Linked DNA regions of Homo sapiens: region 2 is linked to region 1. The links are contacts of gene promoters, found by promoter capture Hi-C in human tissues and cell types (Jung and others, 2019). All regions are on one chromosome and are shown on one strand. Each heading gives the region's core, a stretch centred on a gene start or on the middle of the fragment in contact. The rest is flanking DNA. Distances are from core to core; before and after follow the strand shown. Region 1 holds the start of CAPN5 (calpain 5). Region 2 overlaps ACER3 (alkaline ceramidase 3).

Region 1 (6,819 bases), core at 2,926-5,425:
ACTGGGGTGGGGGCGGGAGCTGGGAATGGTGCCTGCAGTGACGCTGCTGTCAGCTCCTGGGGTGGGCTGAATGACGGCCCCAAAGATACTCCCAACCGAATCCCTAGAACCTGTGAATGACACCTTGTATGGCACAAGGGACTCTGAAGATGCGATTAAGGATTTTGAGACAGGGAGACGATCTTGGCTTATCTGGGTGGGCCCTGAATGTAATCACAAGTGTCCCTATAAGAGGGAGGTGGAGAGGATCTGCCTGCAGAGGAGGAAAGAGCAATGAGACAGAAGCAGAGACTGGGGCAATGTTGCCATAAGGAATGCCAGCAGCCACCGGAGGCTGGAAGAGACAGGGAATGGACTCTCCCCTAGATCCCACAGAAGAAGCCAGCCTGGATTTTAGCTCCATTAGACTCATGGGGGACTTCTCATCTCCGGAACTGTAAGAGCATAAATCTGTGTTGTTTTCAGCCACCAAGTGTGGCAATTTGTCGCAACAGTGATAGGAAAGGAATATGCTCTTGAACGATGCTGTTCCTGAAGAATAGCTAATGGGAGCCGGGGTGTCATGGGGTCCCACCCGCCTCTCCTGCCCGGAGAAGCCCATGAGGGAAATGAAGTTCTTACACCTTGAGTTGCTCCGCTGTACAACAGTCACCCCACATCAGTTTCTTAGTTCCTGCTATGAGTAACAAATCACTTGGGTCCCACCTCACTCCAACTGGCAGAAGTTACACAGCAGCAGGGGGCACTGGCTGAGCAGGGGCTGGCTGGGCAGGGCAGGTGGGTCAAGCCAATGGGCTCCCAGCCTTCTGCCCACCATCCCCGGGGGCACATCCTGACAGTGAAGGGCAGCTGGGGACCAGTGGATGGGCTTTGATGTGCTCTGGTCACCAGCCCCTTCTCTTGCATGCCCACTGTGGGAGAAAACCACAGCACACACCCACAGGCCACCGCAGCCTCAGCTGTTGCCCACCCAGACCCCTATCCCTGGGAAAACTTGGGTCCCTGGAAGCACACGTGCAAACAACCAGAATGGGGAGCAGTAACCCAGGCCCTTGCGGGTAAGCACACATCATCCACAGCTTCCCCATCCAAGCCTGAGGCTGGCTTCCTAAGACATCCAGATTCCAACCGCAAAGGGACCTGGCCCCTTTGCCTTGGGTGAGCAGGGAAAGGCAAAGCCTGAGTTCATAGGCAAGTGAGCAGCTCTGCCTGCACTAAAGCAAGGCAATCCCAGGGTGTCTCCACCAGCCTGGAGGAGGGCTCAGAGGTGGGCAGCAGGAAGGCCAAGCCTCAGGACCACGGTGAGCCCAGGAAAGTTTTGAGCGGGGACCAGGGATGGAGAGGCAGAAGAGTTCTCTGAGGGCACTTGAGAGGTGCCTGGGAGGGGCTCTGAAGGCACTCAAAACACTTGAATAGATGGGGACAGAGACAGAACGGGTGAAAAGCCCAGCTGCAGAGAGACTGCTGCCAGCTGCCCAGGAGGCTGCTGGGGAGGGGTGGGGGGTGTTGCAGACCCTGCTCTTTGCAGCTGGGGGAGCCCAGGGCCCACTGCTGGGCTTTCTGTTCAACCTTTACATGCTGTACTCTAGGGTGCTCCCGGCTGCTCAGCCCTTGCCTCTCCTCAAGGGCTAGAAGCTTTTGGGGGAAGCCAGGGGACTTGGTCAGGCAGATACAGATCACTCCCGTAAGTCCCCTTCACCCACTAAAGCCAAGAGAGGCTTCCGTTTCAATAGGAGAGGACTGTTTCCTTCCACCCTTCTTCTCCCAAAGTCAGCCCCTCATCCCCAGGGAGGGAACTAAGTGATGCTGATTGCCAGCTGCTATTAGTAACAATGGCTACCAGACACCATGTACTTAGAAAGATGCGTTCAGTGACATGATCTAAGTTCATCTTCATCATCCCCCGAGTCCCTGTGAATAGGCAGCATTTATCCCCATTCCGCACATGAGAAAACTGAGACAGAAAAGGGAAGTTCTCCGCCTCAAGGTCATAGGCAAGTAGGAAGGTACAGAGATGGTCTCAGCCAAGAGAAAGAACAGACACATGATTTAGGCCCTGCAGGTAGGAGAGGGTGCCCACTGAGGGCGCAGGAGGCCTCCTGTTTGGGGACCAGGACTCCAGGGCTGATCTGACAGCCTGCCAGGAAAGCAGGCGCAGAAGCAGACAGAGACAGTGCTGGCCTGGGAGCAGTGTCCCAGATGTCACCCACAAAAACCCACAGGCATCTCACAACCACCCTGTCCAACAGTCAACTTACTCCCAACCTGCTCCACCCCCAATGGTGGTCCCCATCTCACAGAGGCAGCCCCACCTACCTTCCCCCAGCACTGGGACCCTGTGTAGCCCCTTAGCCCCTGGGCACCTCCTGCCCCCAGCACCCCTGCTCTGGGAAACTTTATCAGGGTCCCTCCTCCCCTGCCAAGCCTAGCCCTGGGTGGGGAGCAGAGGAGAGCAGAAGGGAGGGCCCTCTCCCTGCTTTGGCCTCCTCCTTATAGCCCTCAGTGGAAGCCCACCCACTACTGCAGCCAAAGGTGGCCCTTCTTGGACACACATCTGACCTATCTAATCCGCAATCCACCCCACCAGCATTCATTTTCACACTGCCAGGCCTTTACTCATGCTGTTCCTTGGGGCTGCAATGACCTGCCTTTTCTTTTCTGCTTGGTGGATTTCAAGACCCAGCCCCAACGAATCTGCAAGTGAACTCATCCCCAGCTCCCGGGCACCCATCAGTCCCTGTCTTGTGCTCCCAGCACTGGGTACAACTCTGGACAGGGCCTTATCTGTGGACCCACTGCCTGTCTTGTCAGAAGAGAGGCTCCTCAGGGCAAAGACCCCGCCTGAGCACCTCTGTGTGCTGGCAACTAGCCTGACCTGGCCTGCAGCAGCAGCTGGGCCCACCATACCCTGCCCAGGAGGCAAAGGCAGCCACACCACCCCACCCCCAGACCCTGGGGACAGGAGCAAGGACCAGCCCGAGGACCCTGGGAGGTGTCAATCCTTGCAAAACACAGTGGTTCCCCCAGCAGGCCTCAGACTCATTGAGTTGGCTGAGCCTCACCCGTAAGCCCCTCTCTTCCAAGAAGTCTGCCCAGATCTCTCTTTCCCCTGAGTCCTGGGATAGTCGCCCTCAGTACTTTTCTCTCTAAACCACAGGTGTAGGGAGAAGATTCTGGGATGAGAGCCAGGCGGACCCGGGTTCAAATTCTGGCTCAGCAATCCTGAGAGGGCAGCTGACTTCGCTTCTCTGTGCCCCACTCTTCTGATCTGTATGGAACTTGGGGGTGAATCCCACCACATGAAATGACTGGGAGAGAGAACGTCGCACCTGTTAATGATCTTTTGTCCTATTTCGCCTCTGGTCCCCTAGGCCAGTCTTCCGAGACCCCCAACGCAAAGGAACAGAGGTGGGAACTCTGAGGTCTGAGAAACAAAGATCCATTCCCTCCCAGACCACTCCCCCACACTCCCGCAACACACACACACACACACACACACACACACACACACACGTGCGCCCGCCCTGCAGTCAAGGAGAAAAGCCCCCTTTCAACCTGGGGAGTAGTGCCAAGAAGCGGATAGGCTGGGGCAGTAGGAGCCTCGGCCCTGCCCCTTCCCCAGGCCTGGGTGGTGGAGCACCCAGAAGGGGTTGGTGGATTGCAGGGATGAAAGGGGGGTTAAGCAGGGAAGAGAAGGGGGGAACTGTAAGGAAGATGAGAGGAAGTGACAGTCTAGCCCCGGGTGTTAGGCGCTTCCAGCGCGTCCGCACTAGGAAAACGACTCGGAGACACCCAGAGGGAGGTGAAAAAAAGACTCCTCGCCGGGGGTGGGGGTGGGGACGAGCCGAGGGGGCCCAGGCGGATGCTCCAGGACCCCGCCCCCCAGCCAGCGCTCACTTCCTTTCCCCCCGGGCCCGCGGGAGGTGCAGCCCCCTCCACTGATTCGTGGTCCCGGAGCAATCACTGGCCCGCGCTGCACCCGCACACACCCCCCCGAAACACACACACACACACACACAGAAGCACACGCCTCCCTCCGCCCGCCTCCTACCGGCCGAGCCGCCGCGGGTCCAGCCGGGCTCCCGGGATGCAGGGCACGGCGCGGGCGCTGGAGCGGAGGCTGCAGCCGCCCGGCGCAGCAGCCTCGGGCTCTGGCCGGAGATCCAGCTGGGACTGGCCTGCGGCGGGGGCTGGCGCTCGCATTCCCCGGGTTCGGCCAGCTGGGCCCGGCTCCGCCCCGCCCCGCCCGCGGCCTCCGCCCATTTGCCCGTTGCGAGCCGGAGGCGTGGTCTCCCGTGGGGCGGGGTGGGCGGCCCGGTGGCCGGGTGCGCCCATGCGCACTGGTGCGGTGGGCGGCCGCTCAGAGGAGCGGTCTCATTCCAGCCCCTGTGTTGAACGCGGACTTGGGGCCCCTAGCGGCACCCACCGCCTCTACCGGCTCGGTCGGGCCCTCGTTCTCTCTCCTTCCCAGCCTATCTGTCTGCGGTTGGTGCGCATCCCCATGGGCAGCCTCCCAAGGGCTGGCTGCACCGTGAGGGATCGGGCCGGGGCTGGGGTTCAGCCCCCACAGGGCGGGCCGGGGCCGCGGCTGACTTGGGGCCGGCGTGTAGTACCGAGGACCCGCAAGGGCCAGGGTGCCTGCCAGAACCAGGACTTGGTGGGCGGCGCCCCTCCCTTTCCGGGCTCCACCTTCACATCCATCCCAAGTGTTCGGATGGAGAAGTGGGAGCCCAGGCCCCTGTGAGCAGCAGAGGGCCTCTGTCAGATGGGAAAACTGACCCCGGCCCGTGTTGAGGACTTAATCCCGTGCTGCCATGGGCTCCCGGGCTCGGGCTCATGTTTGACTCTCTGTCCGTGACTGGCTACCGGAATGCCCTGGGATGGCACGGAGCCTGCATTTCCTGATCTGTAAAACGGGGACTATAATCTCTACCCACCCCAGGCCGCTTGGGGAATCCGATAGAGAAGGTTTAGGAGTGACTAGTTCTTGCCTACAGTAGGAGCTCAGGGGTGCCACCACCCCCCGCCCTGAGGCAGCAGGACAGACGCCCATCTGATCTGATGAGCCCATCGGCCCACTCGCTGGTGGAGCGTCTCAGGCCCGTTCATTCTCCGCCTCCAATTTGTTTCGAAGTCTCAGTTAATGATTTCGTCAACCTCTTGTGTTACCGAAACAAACTTGGGTCCGCCCACCCAGTGCAGCAAAGCCAAACACTGACACCAGGATTTGCAGCGGCAGAAAGGGAGGCATTTATTGCAGGGTGCCAAGCAAGGAGAATAGGTCGGCTAATGCTTAAGACCCGTACTCCCCAATGGTTTACATGTAAGGCTTTTTAAAGGTGGGGAGACAGAGGTTATAGGCAAAGTCATAAATAAATACTCTGGAGCTATACATTGGCTTGGCCCAAAAAGGTGAGACATTTTGAGGCAGGGTCATAGGTGGATTCAGAGATTCTGTGATTTGCAATTGGCTTAGGAAGCAAGACTGTCTAAAAACCTGGGGTCCACAGATAGGAGAGTTAAGCATTGGCTTATGGGTGTGACTCTTTACAGAACCCTTGGGAAGAAATTTAAAGAACAGCCCTCAGTTTCCCCTTATCTGAGGCCTAAGTGACAGCTGTGAAAAACAATTCAGGGACATAGGTCAAGATGTTATCTTTAGTTTCTATAGGGAACCAGACATCTTGTGGCTCTAACTTATTTGGGTGGCCCTTGTTTGAAGCTTCAATTACCTTCTTGCTTGTCAAGGTGCTCATTTACTTCTCAAAGCTAGCTAGCTGCCTGAAATTCCCCCTGAAAAGACTCATGATTTTCCTTTATTTCCACTAAGAGGAGTCTCTGCCTCACCTCACTCTCAGTCACCTGGACTTCTCTAGCTTCTCCCCAACCTCCCTGCCTCTGTCCCAGGCCACCCAGATGCTTCTCCCTTAAGAGTAGCCCCAGCCCCCTCAGGAGCCTCCTATCCAACCAAAGAAGACTTTCACATATGCAGCTGAGACCCGCCACCCATAGAAGAGTGTTCTAAGACTGCACCCCATCTGACTCCCCCATCTCCCCTAACCTTATTCCATGCCCTGTACTGGGAGCAGCAGCTTCACCAGCCCTTCAAAAGTCACTTCAGGGGCTCTACTCTCCCCACCTGAAACCATGCCCGTGCTGATCTGTGGCCGTCTGAAGGACTCTTCCTTCCTCCCTGTGCTGCAGCATCCCAAAGCTCCCTTGCTCAGCATCCACCCCTCACCTATGGCCCTTCTCAGGCTGCGTCTCTCAGAGTTGCTGGTGGGGCCAAGGTTTCCCCTGCAAGGCCAAAGTTCCTGGAGGGCAGAGGCCAAGGGTCATTGTCAGGAAGACAGCAGCACTTGGTAGAGCCAAGTAGATCTGGGCTCCAGTCCTCACTCTGCCAGTTACTGGCTGTGTGATCTGGGCAGGTCCTCTATCCTTTTCCCTGTCTGTAAAATGGGCTTCTAGCTGGAGTGTGTGATGACCAGGTACAGGCAAGTCACGGGGATCGATAAAGGCCCGGTTGTGTAGGATACTGGGCAGCATTGTCTCTGGGCTGGGCAACTCCCATGTGTTCCAAGGTGGGGCTGGGGTTGTGTCTGAGAAGGCATGTTTGCCTCAGCCCACAAAACAGTGGGGTTCAGAGGATGCTCAGACCCCCTTCTGTATCTCAAAGCATTGGAGCCACAAGAGGGTATTGTGCAGTAGTTGCAAGCATGGGCTCTGCCTGGGCTCATATTAGCTGAGTGACCTCAGACAAGTGACCCAACCTCACTGTGCCAGTATCCTCTCCTATAAAGCCAGCATAGCAACAGTCGC
Region 2 (6,556 bases), core at 3,155-5,654, 160 kb after region 1:
CATATGGATTCACTGCCAGTAACTTGGATCTCTTCCACCGCTAACAATACAATAGTTTTATGATTTATTGTCATTAAATAGCATAAAAATTTCCTCAATTGCCTTAATACATGCAAAAAAAGTTTTTCAAACAGCTATTTATTATATAAACACAAGAGAAAAAATTTTTTTTCTGACGACTGCGCTGCCTCCACATTACTCAGACCAAGACTCAGGATTCCCCAAAGATTAGTGATCTGGGTTCTATAACCTTTTTAAAAACAATATGTCATTGTCTTCTTTAATCTATAGAGATCACAATTTTTTTAAATTATCACATAATATTACATTATATGGATATATTATAATTTGTATAATCCCTTATTGGCAGATAGTTATGTTATTTTCAGGTTTTCACAACAGAAAAAAGCAATATTATGAACATCTGTATTAATTTCCTAGGGCTGCCGTAACAAATTACCACAAACTGGGTAGCTTAAAAAACCAATTCAATTTCTTACAATTCAGGATGTCCACAGTTCAAAATCAAGGTGTCAGCAGGGGTGGTTCCTTCTAGAGCCCCTGAAGGAAAAATTGTGTCATGCTTCTCTCTCAGCTTCAGGTGGTTGCTAGCAATCTTTGGCATTCCTCACTTTGCCTTCTACTCTCTATGTCACTATGTTTTCTTCTAAGGATACCAATCACTGAACTTAAGGAATACTCTAATTCCAGTAGATTTAATCTCAAGATCCTTAATTATTAATGTATCTGCAAAGAGCTTATTTTCAATTAAGGTCACATTCTGAGGTTCCTGACAGACATGAACTTTGGGGAGACATTATACAACCACTAGAACATTCTTAAAAATATTTATTTGTTCATACATTTTGTTAAGTTCACAGGATGAATTCCCTAGGGTAGAATCTCCTCTTGGAGAAACTCCCCAGCTTCCCTCTAAGAATTTTCCTTTTAGCCTCTATTGGGGTAGGCAGCAAATTATAAGACCTTCCCCACTCCCTCATTCCCCTTGCCAAATCTCACACTAATCCCAGATTCTTTGTCTGGAAAATCAGAATTAGGACTCAAATAAAAATGATACTTTTTTGGATACTTATAGTGAAGGTAGTGTAAAGCTAAAGCTGAGGCTTCCATATTTAGGCCAAGTATATAAGGAATGAGAGAAAGCTGTTCTATAGAGGAAGAAGAAAAAGGCAGATGAGGCAGATAGTAGCAGACATTAAACACCATGGTAGTGTCAGAGGCATTTGAACCAGGGCAACTCCATCTTGAATACTGGCTGGATAAAATGAGGCTGAAATCTGCTGAGCTGCATTCTCAGGAGATTAGGCATTCATAATCACGGAACAAGACAGGAGGTCAGCAGGATGGGATTTTGGCTGATAAAGAAGCCAGCCAAAATCCATCAAAACCAAGATGGCAAAAAAAGTGACCTCTGGCCCTGGCACTGCTAATCATATGCTAATTATAATGCATTAGCATGCGAAAAGACACTCCCACCAGTGCCACGACAGTTTGCAAATGTCATGGCAACGTCTGGAAGTTACCTTATATAGTCCAGAAGAGGGAGGAACCCTCAGTTCCAGGAATTGCCCGCCCCTTTCCTGGAAAACTCATAAATAACTCACTCCTTGTTTAGCATATAATTAATAAATAACCATAAAAATAGCCAACCAGCAGCCCTCAGGGTTGCTCTGCCCTTGGAGAAGCCATTCTTTTATTCCTTTACTTTCTTAATAAACTTGCTTTCGATTTACATGGACTTGCCTGGAATTCTTTCTTGCGCAAGATCCAAGAACCCTCTCTTGGGGTCTGGATTGGGTAACAGTAGCAGAGACTGTAGAGAGTAATCTTAATAACTATAAACAATTTTAATCAGAAAAATGGTCATTGTTTCTGATTTTCCTATAATCACGTAAGTATTCATCCATGTAACTTAATAATCTTTGAAAATACAATTTCGATGGCAGCATAATGTTCTATCATATAATAATCACTTAATCATTATATTTGTGGGTGCATTACACAGTACAACCAAACTACTTTCCAGAATGGTTGGACCAATTATAATCCTATTAGCAGTACATAACGGTGACTGGTTCACATATTAACTTCAGTAACATTGAACAATATAATGTCTTACTTTAAGAGGTAGAAAACTATATATTATTACTTTTTAATTTACATTTCTCTGGGTTACTAAACTATTTATATGTTTATTATTTTCTGTTTATTAATGGTATATTTTCTTTGGCGAAATGTTTATCCAAGTTACTTAACCACCTTGCGCCTTAATTTTCTCCTCTGTAGATTAGGCATAATACCTATTATGATGATGAAATATTGCAAAAGTGAATTGAGTAAGCAAGGAATAAATGTTAGTTCTCTTTTAAAGAGTTTATTCTACAATGAGATAAAACACCTTTATTCTGATAGGGTGAAATATCTTAGAAAAACATACAGTCTATAATAATTTGTTAGAAAAAATAATAGATTCAATGGAATTATATGTAGTCTTTTTTCAGAAAGCAGTAAGAAATAGTTACTCTTAAGTAACTTATCTGTGAAAATCATAATTTTTTATTATTATTATTATACTTTATGTACTGGGACACATGTGCAGAACGTGCAGGTTTGTTACATAGTTATACATGTGCCATGGTGGTTTGCTGCACCTATCAACCGGTCATCTACATTAGGTATTTCTCCTAATGCTATCCCTCCCCTTGCCCCCCACCCCCCAACAGGCCCCAGTGTGTGGTGATGTTCCCCTCCCTGTGCCCATATGTTCTCATTGTTCAACTCTCACTTATGAGTGAGAACATGTGGTGTTTGATTTTCTGTTCCTGTGCTAGTTTGCTGAGAATGATTCTTTCCAGCTTCATCCATGTCCTGGCAACAGATATGAACTAATTCTTTTTTATGGCTGCATAGTATTCCATGGTGTATATATGTCACATTTTCTTTATCCAGTCTATCATTGATGGGCATCTGGGTTGGTTCCAAGTCTTTGCTATTGTGAATAGTGCTGCAATAAACATACGTGTGCATGTGTCTTTATAGTAGAATGATTTATAATCCTTTGGGTACATACCCAGTAATGGGATTGCTGGGTCAAATGGTATTTCTGGTTCTAGATCCTTGAGGAATCGCCACACTGTCTTCCACAATGGTTGAACTAATTTACACTCCCACCAACAGTGTAAAAGCGTTCCTATTTTTCCACATCCTCTCCAGCATCTATTGTTTCCTGACTTTTTAATGATTGCCATTCTAACTGGCGTGAGATGGTATCTCATTGTGGTTTTGATTTGCATTTCTCTAATGACCGGTGATGATTAGCTTTTTTTCATATGTTTGTTGGCCATATAAATGTCTTCTTTTGAAAAGTGTCTGCTCACATCCTTTGCCCGCTTTTTGATGGGGTTGTTTTTTTTCTTGTAAATTTGTTTAAGTTCCTTGTAGATTCTGGATATTAGCCCTTTGTCAGATGGATAGATTGCAAAAATTTTCTCCCATTTTTAAGATTGCCTGTTCACTCTGATGATAGTTTCTTTTGCTGTGCAGAAGTTCTTTAGTTTAATTAGATCCCATTTGTCAATTTTGGCTTTTGTTGCCATTGCTTTTGGTGTTTTAGTCATGAAGTCTTTGCCCATACCTATGTTCTGAATGGTATTGCCTAGGTTTTCTTCTAGGGTTTTTGTGGTTTTAGGTTTTACATTTAACTGTTTAATCCAGCTTGAGTTAATTTTTGTACAAGGTGTAAGGAAGGGGTCCAGTTTCAGTTTTCTGCATATGGCTAGCCAGTTTTCCTAACACCATTTATTAAATGGGGAATCCTTTCCCCCATTTCTTGTTTTTGTCAGGTTTGTCAAAGATCAGATGGTTGTAGATGTGTGGTGTTATTTCTGAGGCCTCTGTTCTGTTCCATTGGTCTATATATCTGTTTTGGTACCAGTACCATGCTGTTTTGGTTACTGTAGCCTTGTAGTATAGTTTGAAGTCAGGTAGAATGATGCCTCCAGCTTTGTTCTTTTTGCTTAGGATTGTCTTGGCTATATGGGCTCTTTTTTGGTTCCATATGAAATTTAAAGTTGTTTTTTTCTAATTCTGTGAAGAAAGTCAATAGTTTTTTATATTTATTCAAATAAAAGCTTGATGGGAATAGCATTGAATCTATAAACTACTTTGGGCAGTATGGCCATTTTCACAATATTGATTCTTTCTATCTGTGAGCATGGAATGTTTTTCCATTTGTTTGTGTCCTCTCTTATTTCCTTGAGCAGTGGTTTGTAGTTCTCCTTGAAGAGGTACTTCACATCCCTTGTAAGTTATATTCCTAGGTATTTCATTCTCTTTGTAGAAATTGTGAATGGGAGTTCCCTCATGATTTGGCTCTCTGTTTGTCTACTATTGGTGTATAGGGATGCTTGTGATTTCTGCACATTTTGTATCCTGAGACTTTGCTGAAGTTGCTTATCAGCTTAAGGAGTTTTTGGGCTGAGACGATGGGGTTTTCTAATATACAATCATATTATTATTATAATACAATCATATGTTTTCTAAATATAAAATCATACTATTTCTAAATATACAATCATATTTTCTAAATATACAATCATACAATCAAGATGGAGTCTTGCTCTGTCGCCCAGGCTAGAGTGCAGTGGCACGATCTCAGCTCACTGCAACCTCCACCTCCCAGGTTCAAGTGATTCTCCTACCTCAGCCTCCCAAGTAGCTGGGATTACAGGCATGTGCCACCATGCCCAGTTAATTTTTTTATTTTTAGTAGAGACAGGGTTTCACCATGTTGGCCAGGCTGGTCTCGAACCCCTGACTTCAGGTGATCCACTTGCCTTGGCCTCCCAGGGTGCTGGGATTACAGGCGTCAGCCACTGTGCCCGGCAAAAATTATAATTTGTATATAATGACAAGCAACAATAGCTTTATAAAACTAGAACTTATTGGCTTATTTTTATTTTTATTTTTTGAGACAGGATCTCACTGTGTCGCCCAGGCTGGAGTGCAGTGGTATGATCTCAGCTCACTGCAAGCTCTCCCTCCTGGGTTCAAGTGACTCTCCTGCCTCAGCCTACCAAGAAGCTGGGACTATAGGCATGCATCACCATGCCCGGCTAATTTTTGTATTTTTTGGTGGAGACTGGCTTTCACTGTGTTGGCCAGGCTAGTCTTGAACTCCTGCCTCAAGTGATCCACCTACATTGGCCTCCCAAAGCACTGGGATTACAGGTGTGAGCCACTGTGCCCGGCTTTATTGGCTTATTTTATCCAATTCAAAAATAATCTTGTAAATCTGAACAGTCAGAAATCAAGGTGAAAACAATAAAAGCACTCAAGAAAATCACATACATACATATTACTTAATGTGCCCATGAGTTTAACAGTCATCCTTATTGGAAACAATATGAAAGAGAACCACAAAAATAGAGATATAAACACAGCATGTCCACTAAGAACAAATCAGCTAAATAACACTAGTTTCACAATAAATTTGCTTGAAATAGTGTCTAGTGAGCTGTGATCTACAGAAGACTTTCAAGTGCAGAAGCTATAACCAGATAACACAAAAGGTGCTGTGATGGGGCCACTGATCACACTCATAAGAACTAGTTCCTGGGCCTATCATAAAGAATGCTTGTTTCCTGAATTTGTACCTCATTGGAGGGATTCACTTTAAAGTGATAGGAGAAGCTTTAAATAATTGGGGTATTAAACTGGCTGTCTAATGTAAGTTGATGATCCAATCCTGTAAAAAAGGGTGAAAAAAAACAGTGAGAGAAGTGAATTAAGTATCTATTTTGCACCAGATGCTATACAACGTGACGCTTTTTTTTCAATTGAAGAAACTGTAAAATTCAGAATAAAGAATAATGTAACAAATAGGCTCATGCCTAAGAATTTATCATTGTTTATATTTTGTTATGTCTCTATCAAGCTTTTATTTGAATGAATACAAAAATCTATTGTAGATAAAGTCATGTCCAGGCATGGCGGCTCATGCCTATAATCTCAACACTTTGGGAGGCCAAGGTGGGGGGACTGCTTGAGCTCAGGAGTTCAAGATGAGCCTGAGCAACATAGTGAGATCCCATCTCAATATTTAAAATAAAAATAAAATAAAATAATACAAAAAAAAGTCAAAGTGTAATTGCCTGAGGGGTTCTTCTTGCCCACTGCACAGACAAAACCAGCTCACTGACACCATGGTACTGCAGTAAAGAAAGATTTTAACTGATGTGAGGCTGGCCACACGGAAGACAGAGTTATTACTCAAATTAGCCTCTCTGAAGGCTTGGAGGTTAGGGATTTTCAAGGATAATTTGGTGGGCAGGGAACTAGGGAATGGGTGCTGCTGATTGGTTGGAGATACAATCATAGGGGTGTGGAAAACAATCCTCTTGTGCTGAGTCTGTCTCTGGTTAGGGGGTGACAGGACCAGTTGAGTTATGAATCTCAATGCCAGAATGCAAAAATCTGAATTTCAAGTACCAATACTAGGAGTAATCAGAGAAGTCACAAATGTGTGTCCTCTGGC

The links. Contacts are between HindIII fragments. The study calls those that stand out against the background at their distance.
Region 2: a fragment that was not itself captured here is called in contact with the fragment with the promoter of CAPN5 in region 1 in 1 of the 25 tissues and cell types used here (bladder).

Annotation. Positions count from the first base shown.
Region 1 is chr11:77,064,327-77,071,145 of GRCh38, reverse strand. CAPN5 (calpain 5) reads right to left here and starts at 4,175. Exons shown (of 13, transcript NM_004055.5): 1 at 4,052-4,175. RefSeq lists a silencer at 3,970-4,659 and an enhancer at 4,516-5,016. The HindIII fragment of the contact is 16,009 bases long and covers 1-6,819 here.
Region 2 is chr11:76,906,305-76,912,860 of GRCh38, reverse strand. The region is part of intron 1 of ACER3 (alkaline ceramidase 3); the gene reads right to left. Among named protein-coding and RNA genes, the nearest start is that of ACER3, 49 kb to the right of the region's middle. RefSeq lists an enhancer at 1,422-1,716. The HindIII fragment of the contact is 4,759 bases long and covers 2,025-6,556 here.